Linked DNA regions of Homo sapiens: regions 1 and 2 are each linked to region 3. Evidence: promoter capture Hi-C in human tissues and cell types (Jung and others, 2019). All regions are on one chromosome and are shown on one strand. Each heading gives the region's core, a stretch centred on a gene start or on the middle of the fragment in contact. The rest is flanking DNA. Distances are from core to core; before and after follow the strand shown. Region 1 overlaps ADIPOR2 (adiponectin receptor 2). Region 2 overlaps ADIPOR2 (adiponectin receptor 2). Region 3 holds the start of CACNA2D4 (calcium voltage-gated channel auxiliary subunit alpha2delta 4).

The links. Contacts are between HindIII fragments. The study calls those that stand out against the background at their distance.
Region 1: a fragment that was not itself captured here is called in contact with the fragment with the promoter of CACNA2D4 in region 3 in 2 of the 25 tissues and cell types used here (IMR-90 fibroblasts and aorta).
Region 2: a fragment that was not itself captured here is called in contact with the fragment with the promoter of CACNA2D4 in region 3 in 1 of the 25 tissues and cell types used here (spleen).

The regions. Positions count from the first base shown.
Region 1 is chr12:1,755,544-1,758,949 of GRCh38, forward strand. All of the region lies in intron 2 of ADIPOR2 (adiponectin receptor 2), which reads left to right. It also overlaps the pseudogene RPS4XP14. Among named protein-coding and RNA genes, the nearest start is that of LRTM2, 63 kb to the right of the region's middle. The HindIII fragment of the contact is 4,565 bases long and covers 1-3,406 here.
Region 2 is chr12:1,692,801-1,696,353 of GRCh38, forward strand. The region is part of intron 1 of ADIPOR2 (adiponectin receptor 2); the gene reads left to right. Among named protein-coding and RNA genes, the nearest start is that of ADIPOR2, 3.5 kb to the left of the region's middle. The HindIII fragment of the contact is 3,880 bases long and covers 1-3,327 here.
Region 3 is chr12:1,916,782-1,920,352 of GRCh38, forward strand. It overlaps CACNA2D4 (calcium voltage-gated channel auxiliary subunit alpha2delta 4), which reads right to left and starts at 1,871. Exons shown (of 38, transcript NM_172364.5): 1 at 1,466-1,871. The coding sequence starts at 1,692. RefSeq lists an enhancer at 1-520. The HindIII fragment of the contact is 9,283 bases long and covers 1-3,571 here.

The DNA.
Region 1 (3,406 bases), core at 149-2,648, 160 kb before region 3:
TACCTCCAGTGTATACCTTGGGAGTCAGTAGAGTTCTGAAAGCTGAAGCAGATTTTATTCTTTCATTTCCTAGAGAAAAGAGCAACCTTTAGGCAACTATACCTATAGAGCAGAAGTATCAGAAAGTCATTGTTACAGACATTTTGCTATGTGCTTTGGAACTTCCAAATTATATAGCATGTGTTTAATGTTTTATTACTAGTACAGTGTTTCTCAAACTTTGGGTTGTACCTATTAGTGGGTTTTGAAATTAATTGTATTATAAAGTGTTAAAAATTAAAGATCAAAATAGAATAAAAACATTGAAGTGTGTATATAGTAAGTAATACACATTTAAATTGTTTTAGTTTTATATAGTTATGTATATAAATATGAATAATAATATGAAATACATTTCTTACTACGGGTTGTGGTTAACATTTTGAAAGCTTCTACTGGGAACAGCAGCTGGGGGAAGAGTGTTTCAAGGTAGAGGAAACAAGCTAGTGCCAAGGTCCAAAGGTGGGAATATGCTTATCTTCCTTGCCTTCCCCTCCTGCCTCCCACCACCACCTGCGCCTGCTTGTATCATCTTTCTCTTCTTTCATCTTCTCCTTTATTTTATTATTATAATTATATTTTTTTTGAGATAGAGTCTCGCTCTGTTGCCCAGGCTGGAGTGCAGTGGCACCATCTCGGCTCACTGCAACCTCCGCCTCCCAGGTTCAAGTGATTCTCCTGTCTCAGCCTTCCGAGTAGCTGGGACTACAGGCCTGCGCAACCACATCCGGCTAATTTTTGTATTTTTAGTAGAGACGGGGTTTCACCATGTTGGCCAGGCTGGTCTTAAACTCCTGACTTCAAGTGATCCGCCACCTTGGCCCCGCAAATTGCTGAGATTACAAGCGTGAGCCACTGTGCCTGGCCTTCTTTTTTTTTTTTTTTTTTTAAAGGACCAAAAGAAGGCCAGTGTAGTTAGAGCATGAGGAACTAGAGGGAAGAGTGAAATGAGATAAGGTCAGTGGGCCAGTCAGAGAACAGATTATACAGGTTTATTCAGGGAATTTAAATTTTATTTTAATAAAATTGCCTGGCACGTGGGCAGCTTTTGGGGTGTTTAAACATGGAGACATTTGTGTTTTTAAAAGTATGACTCTGGTTGTGGAATGGATTATTTGAAGACAGAATGGAAGAGGGACCCAGGTGTTAGAATATAGATGAGAGATGATGTCACTTGAAACAGCATGGTGGGAGCAGCAGAAATGGAGGGAAATGGTTGGATTCTGGATATATTTTGTGGGTCAAATCAACAAGACTTCCTGATGGATTAGCTGTAGAGTGAGGAAAATAGAGGAATCAAGGCTGATTCTCTGAGCTGAACTGAAATGGTAAAGCAAGAGGGAAGAGCGGGTTTAAGGTAGGGAAATCAAGAGTGGTGTTTTGGAAATGTGAGATTCAAGATTCTTGTTAGATATCTTAGAAGATATATTGAGGAGTCAGTAACTGTGTCACGATTAGATTTTTATTTACCTCTGTTTCTTAACTATTTTTAAAACTGAACTGTTATTAAGGAATCTAAGGAATTTTCAAGCTTGAAAGAATTTCAGGCTAGCCAATTTGAGATTCATAATGGCAATAAAATTCTGTTTATCATGCTACATTATTTTTAATTACGTACAAAGATCTAACATGTCACCCAGGGACCATTTCACCCACTGCTCTGTTTGGTCGCCAGTCTTTTGTCTTTCTTTTCAGCAATGGTGAGGCAGATACCCTTTTCCTCAGGGAAGAGAAGTCTGTGGTTTGTTGCCCTTGCCAATAACAAAAATGTTGGAAAGTTGAGTGGCAAAGCTGTTTCCATTGGCATCTTTCATGTGAACCACATCAAAAGATCCAGAGTGCCTCTCTCTGTTGGTTATCACACCAGTTCTTCCCAGGTTAGCACCTACAGTCACCATGCATAGGTTACCATTGTCAAACTTGATGAAATTGGTAATCTTGCCAATCTCCAAATCTGTCTGAATGGTATCATTCACCTTGATGAGGGAATCAGGGTAGCGGATGGTGCCGGGCATCATGAGTCACCAGATGAGGGATTCCTTTTGTGCCCCCAGAGATTTTTCTCACTTTGTATTTGGCCTCCTCAGGTGTAATAGGATGTACAGCAAAGCGACCCTTGGTGTCATAGATGAGACGGAAATTCTCCCCCGTCTTGTCAATGCTGATGACATCCATGAATCCAGCAGGGTAGGTTATATGAGTTCGGACCTTGCCATCGATCTTAATGAACCTCTGCATGTAATCTTCTTTACTTCATCTCCTGTCAGGGCTTACTTAAGTCTGTTCCTTAGGAATATGATGGGGAGACACTCTCTCAACTTGTGGGGACTAGTGGATGGACGAGGAGCAAACACACCGGTCAATTTATCCAGCATCCAATGCTTTGGAGCTGCTGCCCACTTCAGATGCTTCTTGGGACCACGCGCCATGGCTGCGTTAGGCAGGGAAAGCAAAATATATTTTTAGAGTCCAGAACTTGCCCACCCAATCACTTTTGTGTCAGATTTACATTAATTGATTTTTTTATGTGTTGTAATACTATATATTTTTGTTTCCTGTCTTCACTGGTTGAAGTGGTATCTTCTGTAAATAATATTTGTGTTTTAATTTCACTAATAAATAATTAGGTGGATGGGATTTTTCCCATCCTTATGAATGAACTCATTTATTGCCCTGAAAGCCTCTCTTTGATTTTCCTTTTATCTTGAGCTAATGCAAAAGTTAGCAGTATGAACAAAAGAACCATTTTTTCTTTCATTTGTTTTAATAGATTTTTCTATGAGGAGCCAAGGAAAGAAAGGATCCATAGGTTGTGGAATGTTAGAGCTGAAAAGGCCTTCCAAAATCATCTTGTTTGCCTTCCTCAATTTACCAGTGAGGAAATTGTGTTTTTATTCCTAATGAAAATTTGCGTGTGTATGTTGTTTCTCTTTGGAGTTGAAGTTGTTTGCTGAAAAAGAGAATCTATATGCAGTACTGTCCCTTGCTGCCAATTTCACGGTTAATGTATACTACACATGGGAGCTAGAAAAGAAGGGGGATAGATAAGAGTTATAGAGAACTGCAGTTTTGAGACTGAAATTAAAGGCAAAATATTGATATCTTCACATGATTTGAGGAGTTCCATATGCTGATTTTTTTTGTTGTTTGGAGAAAGGACTCATTTCTTAAAATTTTCAGTTTTGAAGTTGAAACATCTGAACTGTAGACTGCAACCTTCTGGATAATTCTAGTAATATCTTAATTGTGTCACTTTCACAGACATTATCTCATTTGCTTCTCAAAACTATACTCTGAAATAGAGCAGATATGATTTCTTTTTGAAAGTAGACGAAAATAGGATTTAGAAAGGTTAGTTTAGGAATTT
Region 2 (3,553 bases), core at 138-2,637, 220 kb before region 3:
GGATTGACAGATTTTAAAGCCTGCAGGCCCAGTCCTGCCAGTTGCCTCTTTTTGTAAATAAAGATTTGATTAGGCCTGGTGCGATCGCTCACGCTGGTAATCCCAGCACTTTGGGAGGTCGAGGCGGGCAGATAACCTGAGATCAGGAGTTTGAGACCAGCTTGGCCAACATGGTGAAACCCCGTCCCTATTAAAACTACAAAAATTAGCCGGGTGTGGTGGCGCACTCTTGTTATCCCAGCTGCCCGGGAGGCTGAGGCAGGAGAATCGTTTAAACCCGGGAGGTAGAGGTTGCAGTGAGCCAAGATTGCACCATTGCACTCCAGTCTGGACAACAAGAGCGAAACTCCGTCTTAAAAAAAAGAGGAAGAAAAAAGTTTTTATTAGAACATAGCCATATGCAGTCGTTTAGGTATTGTCTGTAGTTTCTTTTGGGGTACAGCAGCAGAGTTGAGTAGTTGTGCCAGAGAGCCATGTGGCCTGTAACACCTTATATTTATTTACTATGTGGACCTTAATATAAAAAGTTTGCCGAGCTCCATTAAAAATGATACATAGTCAATGTTGAAAATTTAAATGAGTCAGAAAATTGTAAAGGAGAAAGTAAAAGTTATTTACAAGTACACCACTTGGGGCTTTTTTTCTGTGATTATAGAATTTGTTGGTGATTATTTTTTATATAAATGAACTCAAATTGATAAATGTTGGTTTGTAATCTGCTTTTTTTTTTTTTTGTTCATTTTGTTTTTTGAGACGGAGTTTCGTTCTTGTTGCCCAGGCTGGAGTGCAATGGCACGATCTTGGCTCACTGCAACCTCTGCCTCCTGGGTTCAAGCAATTCTCCTGCCTCAGCCTCCCTAGTAGCTGGGATTACAGGTGTGCGCCACCAAGCCCGGCCAATTTTTTTTTTGTATTTTTAGTAGAGACGGGGTTTCACCATGTTGGCCAGGCTGGTCTCGAACTCCTCATGTGATCCACCTGCCTCACCCCTCAAAGTGCTGGGATTACAGGTGTGAGCAACCGTGCCCAGCCCTGTAATCTGCTTTTTTAAGAAGTATTTCATTATTTGTATTTGGATTTTGATTGCTTTTGTATTTTCTGCATTGGAGGTCTTTCTAGAAAGGGGCTTATGAACCGGGTTTTCATGATTAGTCTTACCAGTCAAGATTTAAAAAGAAAATCCAGGAATAATAAATGCTTGGTAATGAAGATGCTGGTTAACATTTATTGAGCACTTACTATGTACTAGACAATTTCCACTACTTTACGTGTATGAAATTATTTAATTGCTGTGGCAGCTCTGTGAGTGTATACTATGATTTCTGTTTTACAGGTGAGGAAACTAAGGCAAGGAGAAAAATTAAGTAACTGTTGGAAGTTTATCAGCTAGCAAATGGTGGAGCTAGGATTTGATTTCATGCAGTCTGATTTGAGAAACCCAAATTCTTAACAATATGCTACAGAGCCTCTACTTACATTATTGCTCAGTGTAGAAAGTTTAGACAGTCCAGAGATATACTGTCATCCCTTGGTGTCTGTAGGGACTGCTTCTAGGACCTTTGGTGAATATCAAGATGCACAGATGCTCAAATCTCTGATATAAATGGCATAGTATTTGCATATAACCTGTGCATATCCTCCCAAATACTTTATATCATTTCTAGATTACTTATAATACCTAATAGAATATAAATGCTATGTAAATAGTTGTTATACTGTATTGTTTGGGGAATAAAGACAAGAAAAAAAAGTCTGCATGTTTCAAATACAGATGCTATATTAAACTTTTTGGATCCAAGCTTGGTTGAATCCACAGACATAAGAGCCCATGGATATGGAGGGCCAACTGTATAATGTAAAAAAATTCCTTCTCATGCGCTAGTTTCCAGTTTTCATCCTTTGTAGATAACCAGGGGCAACAGTTTGATATAGGTCTTTTCACCTCTCTTTGTGTGCATATACAAGTAATTATTTGCAGATTTGTCTGCATATTCAGAATTTAAAAATTACACTTTTTTTTAGCAGCTTTAGATGTACAGAAATTTGAGCCGATAGCACAGAAAGTTCCCATATTCCCTTCCCTTCCCTCGTTTCTCCTATTGCAAACATCTTGCATTAATTTGGCACATTTATTGCATTTGATGAGCCCATATCAATATGTTGTTATTTATTGGTCTATAGTTTACATAGGGCTTATTCTTTGTGTTGCAGTTTTTTTTTTTTTTTTGTTTTGTTTTTTTAAGATCTCACTCTGTATCTCAGGCTGGAGTGCACTGGTGCCGTCATGGCTCTGCAGCCTCGACCTCCCGGGCTCAAGCGATCCTCCCACCTTAGCCTCCCAAAGTGTTAGGGTTACAGACATGAGCCACTGCACTTGGCCGAGAGTTATTTTTTACAAAAATGGGATCAAGCCCAGTGGTGGCTTGCGCCTGTAGTTCCAGCTACTTGGGAGGTTGAGGTGGGAGGATTGCTTGAGGCTAGGAGTTTGAGACCAGTCTGGGCAACACAGCATGACTCTGACCAGTCTGGGCAACACAGCATGACTCTGTCTCTTAAAAAAAAAAAAAAGTGGGCTGAGGGTGGTGGCTAACGTCGGTAATCCTTGCACTTTGGGAGGCCAAGGCAGGTGGATCACCTGAGGTCAGGAGTTCGGGACCAGCCTGGCCAACATGAATGAAACCCCCTCTCTACCAAAAATATATTAAAAAAAAAATTATCTGGGTATGGTGGCGCGCGCCTGTAATCCCAACTACTCAGGAGGCTGAGGCAGGAGAATCGCTTGAAACTGGGAGGTGGAGGTTGCAGTGAACCGAGATTGCACCACTGCGCTCTAGCCTGGGCAACAGGAGCAAAACTCCATCTCAAAAAAAAAAAAAAAAAATGACGAAACCCGTCATTCAGCAGTCATTCACCTTTTTTGGTGGTTTTCAGGATATAGTGCTTTTGGACTTTCTAATGTAAACATTCTTGATTTACTAATTTTCAGATTAATGACAATTTATTTTGGGAATGGAAGGCTGGCTTGGATGTTACTTTTTCTCTCTTTTTATTTTTCTATTTTTTTTTTTAAGTGTATCTCATAGTGGCAGCAGCTTTTCCCCAAAGGAATGCTTATTTTTTTTGACGGGACATTCTGGCTATACCTAATCATCAAAGTTCTTCTTTTTTCTCTTTATCTCTGGATTTGGAAAATGATTCATTTTGGTTTTCTTCCTCATAAATTCTTTTTGGTCTGTCCAGCCATTGCAGTTGCTAGTCATGTCTCCTTGTCAGACTTTGGCTTTTTATGACTGTCATCAATGTTAGAAAAAATTACTTGCTCCTTATCACTATTTCAATACATTTCCTCTTGGGCTTTCCCTGGGGGCAGCACTGAATTTTTTCCTTAGTTGAGCCATGCAGATTTTCTAGAAGTCATCGTTTAGTTTGGCTTTTCACTCCTCCATGGGTGCTGTTCAGCTTCTAGGAGATTTCTTGCAGTTTCTACTTGTCAACAGATTCACCAGCAGCACCCTCCTCCTCACTGAGACTGGTGCTTCCCCACCCATCTTTA
Region 3 (3,571 bases), core at 621-3,120:
GGAGGTGGAAGCCCGGCTGGAGGGAAAGACTGAGAAGAGAGGTTCGGCGGGAGTGAGGACAGGTGGGGCCAAGTCCTGGGCAGGCAGATGAGGCTGTGTGCAGGCTGTTGTCTCTGGCAGCACCCAGGGCTTCTGCATAGATGGCCGCTGGGGCCCCCCTCCCTGAAGGCCTGGATTCCAGCCACCCCGACTTGGCCCTCAGCCCACTCCTGGAGTTGGCCCTCTCCTATCAGCTGGTGTGTGTTCTGGGGATGAAAATTGTTCTGAACATCTCCTGCAGCAACAGATAGCGTTACGGGCTGGCGGCGGGTGTAATGGTGAAAGTGCAGTCCAGGCTGACAGGAGTTCAAATCCCAGCACCTTCACTTCCTGGCCTTGTGAACTTGGGGAAGTCACCTGACCTCTCGGGGCCTCTGTTTCCTCAGCTGCAAAATAGGGATAAAAATAAGCCCCCACTGAATGGCTCTGCAAACTAACGGTGTCATTTGTGAAGCGCCCAGCTCCGTGCCAGGCAGGGAACAAGGAGAGCTATGCGGCTCGATGGGAAACGATGCTGCCTAATCCACTGGTCAGCAAAGGCTAAGCACAGGCACGGTGTGTCATTTAGGCTCCCTGTCCCCACTCCTGCTAAGACATGCAGTTGGCAGGTGGCTCTGTTGGTGGCCTGGCTATGGTGCTGGGCTCAAGCGGCTGGAGTAAACAGGATGGGGTCTGTAGCACCTACAGTCTAGAAGGCTCTGCTACCCACATGTATTGGAAATTTCCTTCCTAGGACCACCTGAGCTAGGGCCTAAAACACAGACACCCCAGAGAGGTTGCACAGTAATTTACATGTACACCAAGGTGCACATGACTGATACCGGGTTCTTTCCTGGAGCCGGTCTTAATGGCCGGCTAGAGAATCAAGGTTGGAAGGAGGCAGAAAGGTGTAGAAAGGGAAGACTGCGGCCACCAAAATCCATTTTTTTCCCCAGTTCCTGGACAAGCCACCTCCTGTGCGCATGAGACGTTCTGTGGGTTCAGAACTGCTTCCCCTTTTTGGAATGTCAAAATACGCATTTCCTGCCAAATGCTTCGGGGAGCTGCGATGCTGAGATAACCCGGCTCCTCCAGGCTGCCTCATCTCAGCGATTATCCTGAAGGAGCACCCGCCCTTCAGGTGTCCCAGAAGCTGCTTGTCAGGCCAGGAAGACAGCAGCCCTGATGATCAGTTCTTCCTAAAGCCATCCGGCTCCTGGGGAGAGGCAGGTGGGACTCCAGAACTCACAGAGCTTTTGGGAGGAGAAAGAGGAGGCCGGAGAAGCAAAGGGCTTTACAGCAAGAGAGTGGTCAGTCGCAGCCACTGGGGAAAAGCCCAGAGGGAGGGCAGGGGCGGGAGGAGTGGGCAGAGGATGGAGGCCCAGCCCGGGAAGAAAGTGGGAAAGGGTGACCGGGTTTTTGGGGTGGGGTTGAACGTGATGCTTACGTTTCCAGAGGAATCTTGGCCTGTCCCCACGCAGGGGACAGGGAGGTGCCTAGAAGCAGCAGCCACAGGAGGGCCGAGGTCTTCTGCACAAAGGCCCAGGCCACGGGCATTGGCTGGAGGGGAATCCAGCGGCTGCTGGAGCTGGGGTTTGCGAGGAAGTTGGGAGTTGCAGGCATGGTGGGCCTGGGGTTGGGGAGGGGAAGGAGGGCAGAGCAGCCACAGACCATGAGCTCTGTCTGCCTTCCTCCCAGACCCCAGGACGCCCCAGGCCTTTGTCTTCCGTGCCTTGGCGAGCCTGGGGTCTCCAGCCTCTCAGTCCTGGGTGGGGAGGGCTTCTCTCTGCCCCACAGCTGCAGCTCACAGAAGAGTCGCCCCACCTAGCAAGCAGGCCTCGGAGACAGGGACTGGGGGAGAGGCTGTGGCAACATGAAACCCTTTAATCCGCTGGCCTCTCCTCTAATCCTCTCCTGACAGCAGGGAGGGGGTGGCAGGGGGTGGGGAGCTGCCTCCCAAGATTACCACAACTGCAGCTGGTTCCCTCAGGGCTATAGTGCACCCCTCTGCTTTAAAGAGGCAGCCCCGTTCCTGTGGAACCACCTTCTGGACCCAGGAAGGGCTTGCTGTGACTATGGCCAGAGGACAGCAGCTGAGTTTGCACAGTACTCTGATTGACCCACAAATCTCTTGTTGACCCTGAGGTGGGGGTGTGTCCTCATCCCTGCTTGGCAGAGGCTCTTGAGGCCCGGGGAGTCCCAGGGGCAGAGCTGGGACTCTGGCTGGTGTTTCCAGGCCTGGTGCCTTTGGGACAGGTCATAGGTCATAGGTGAAGTCAGTGGACCCACGCCTCCACATCTCAGCTGCTCGTGGGCGGGGCTGGGGACGCATTTGCTGTGCAACTGATGAAGCTTCAGGACCCCTGAATCCACAGACTCCCCCCTTTCCCGGAGAGGCCCTAGCAATGTGTTCCTGTGGCCAAATGTTTTTGTAAAATATGCAAAAGTTGAGATAGTTTAACCATAACCGGTTGAGACTGTCTGTCTCTTTCCATCCCAACTTCTCTTCCGTCTGAGGGACTCTTAGTTGGATGATGTTTGGGTGGCTGAGGGCACTTGGGGGATCCAGTTAAGAGGAAAGTGAGCTGGGGAAACACTTAATCTGGGCTTAGTGGGATATGCTGACATGGTTCACAGTGACTTCTTTGTACAGAGAAGTTACCTCCAGCTGAGTGTAGGCAGGGCTTCCAGGAACACTCATCCCACAGGACATCCCACCAGCAGATGCAGCAAGAGAGGCTGGGCCGTGATGTGAGCGCACGCTGTCACACCCACCCTGGCCATGTGTGGTGGGGAGGGCAAAGTAACAGTCAGGAGCTCATCTGCAGAAAATCTACAAAAAGCCACACAGGTAACATCGTTGGTGGAGGATTTGGTTCTCACCAAGGCCTGGCCAGGACAGAAGTTCTCTCCTGTTAGGAAAATAGTGGATATTGAAAGAATATAATTACACCGTACATTGCTTTGTGTTCTGATGAGAGTTACACAAATTAGAATTGATCAAAATTCTTGTGTTGTGAGCCCAAACCAGTAGTAGTACCACATGGGTTCTCCGGGGGTGAAGTCATAGATTTTATGCAGTCCCCGTATCAGATTATTTTCTTAGTGTAACTGGTGCACTGTGTCTTCACAAAATCTGGTGGTTCCAGCAAAATGGTAAGCAAAATTGCCACCAACGCAGAGAAATGCTTGCAGAAGCAAGTGTTCTGATGACAAAACTCCTACACAGATTCATCAATAAGTCAGTGCTGTAGTATCAGAGTAATCTGGTGGCACAGTTTTGTGGCTGAATACAATGTATTTTTTAAAGGCATCTAAATGATTCCTATGAATGCCTTAATTTCACATAAATTTTGTACATGTTTTGAGGATTACAAATCAAACACATTTAGAAAAAATACTACAGAGGCACACTGGGCAGTCAATACATAAAAAGAATGTAACTTCTCTAGGTTTTGTGAATTTGGTGGAATTCACCAGCTTCTTAAAATTTGTAATTTGGAATGATTTTTAAAACTGAATAAATATTCACCTTTTTTCAACTTTTTTATTG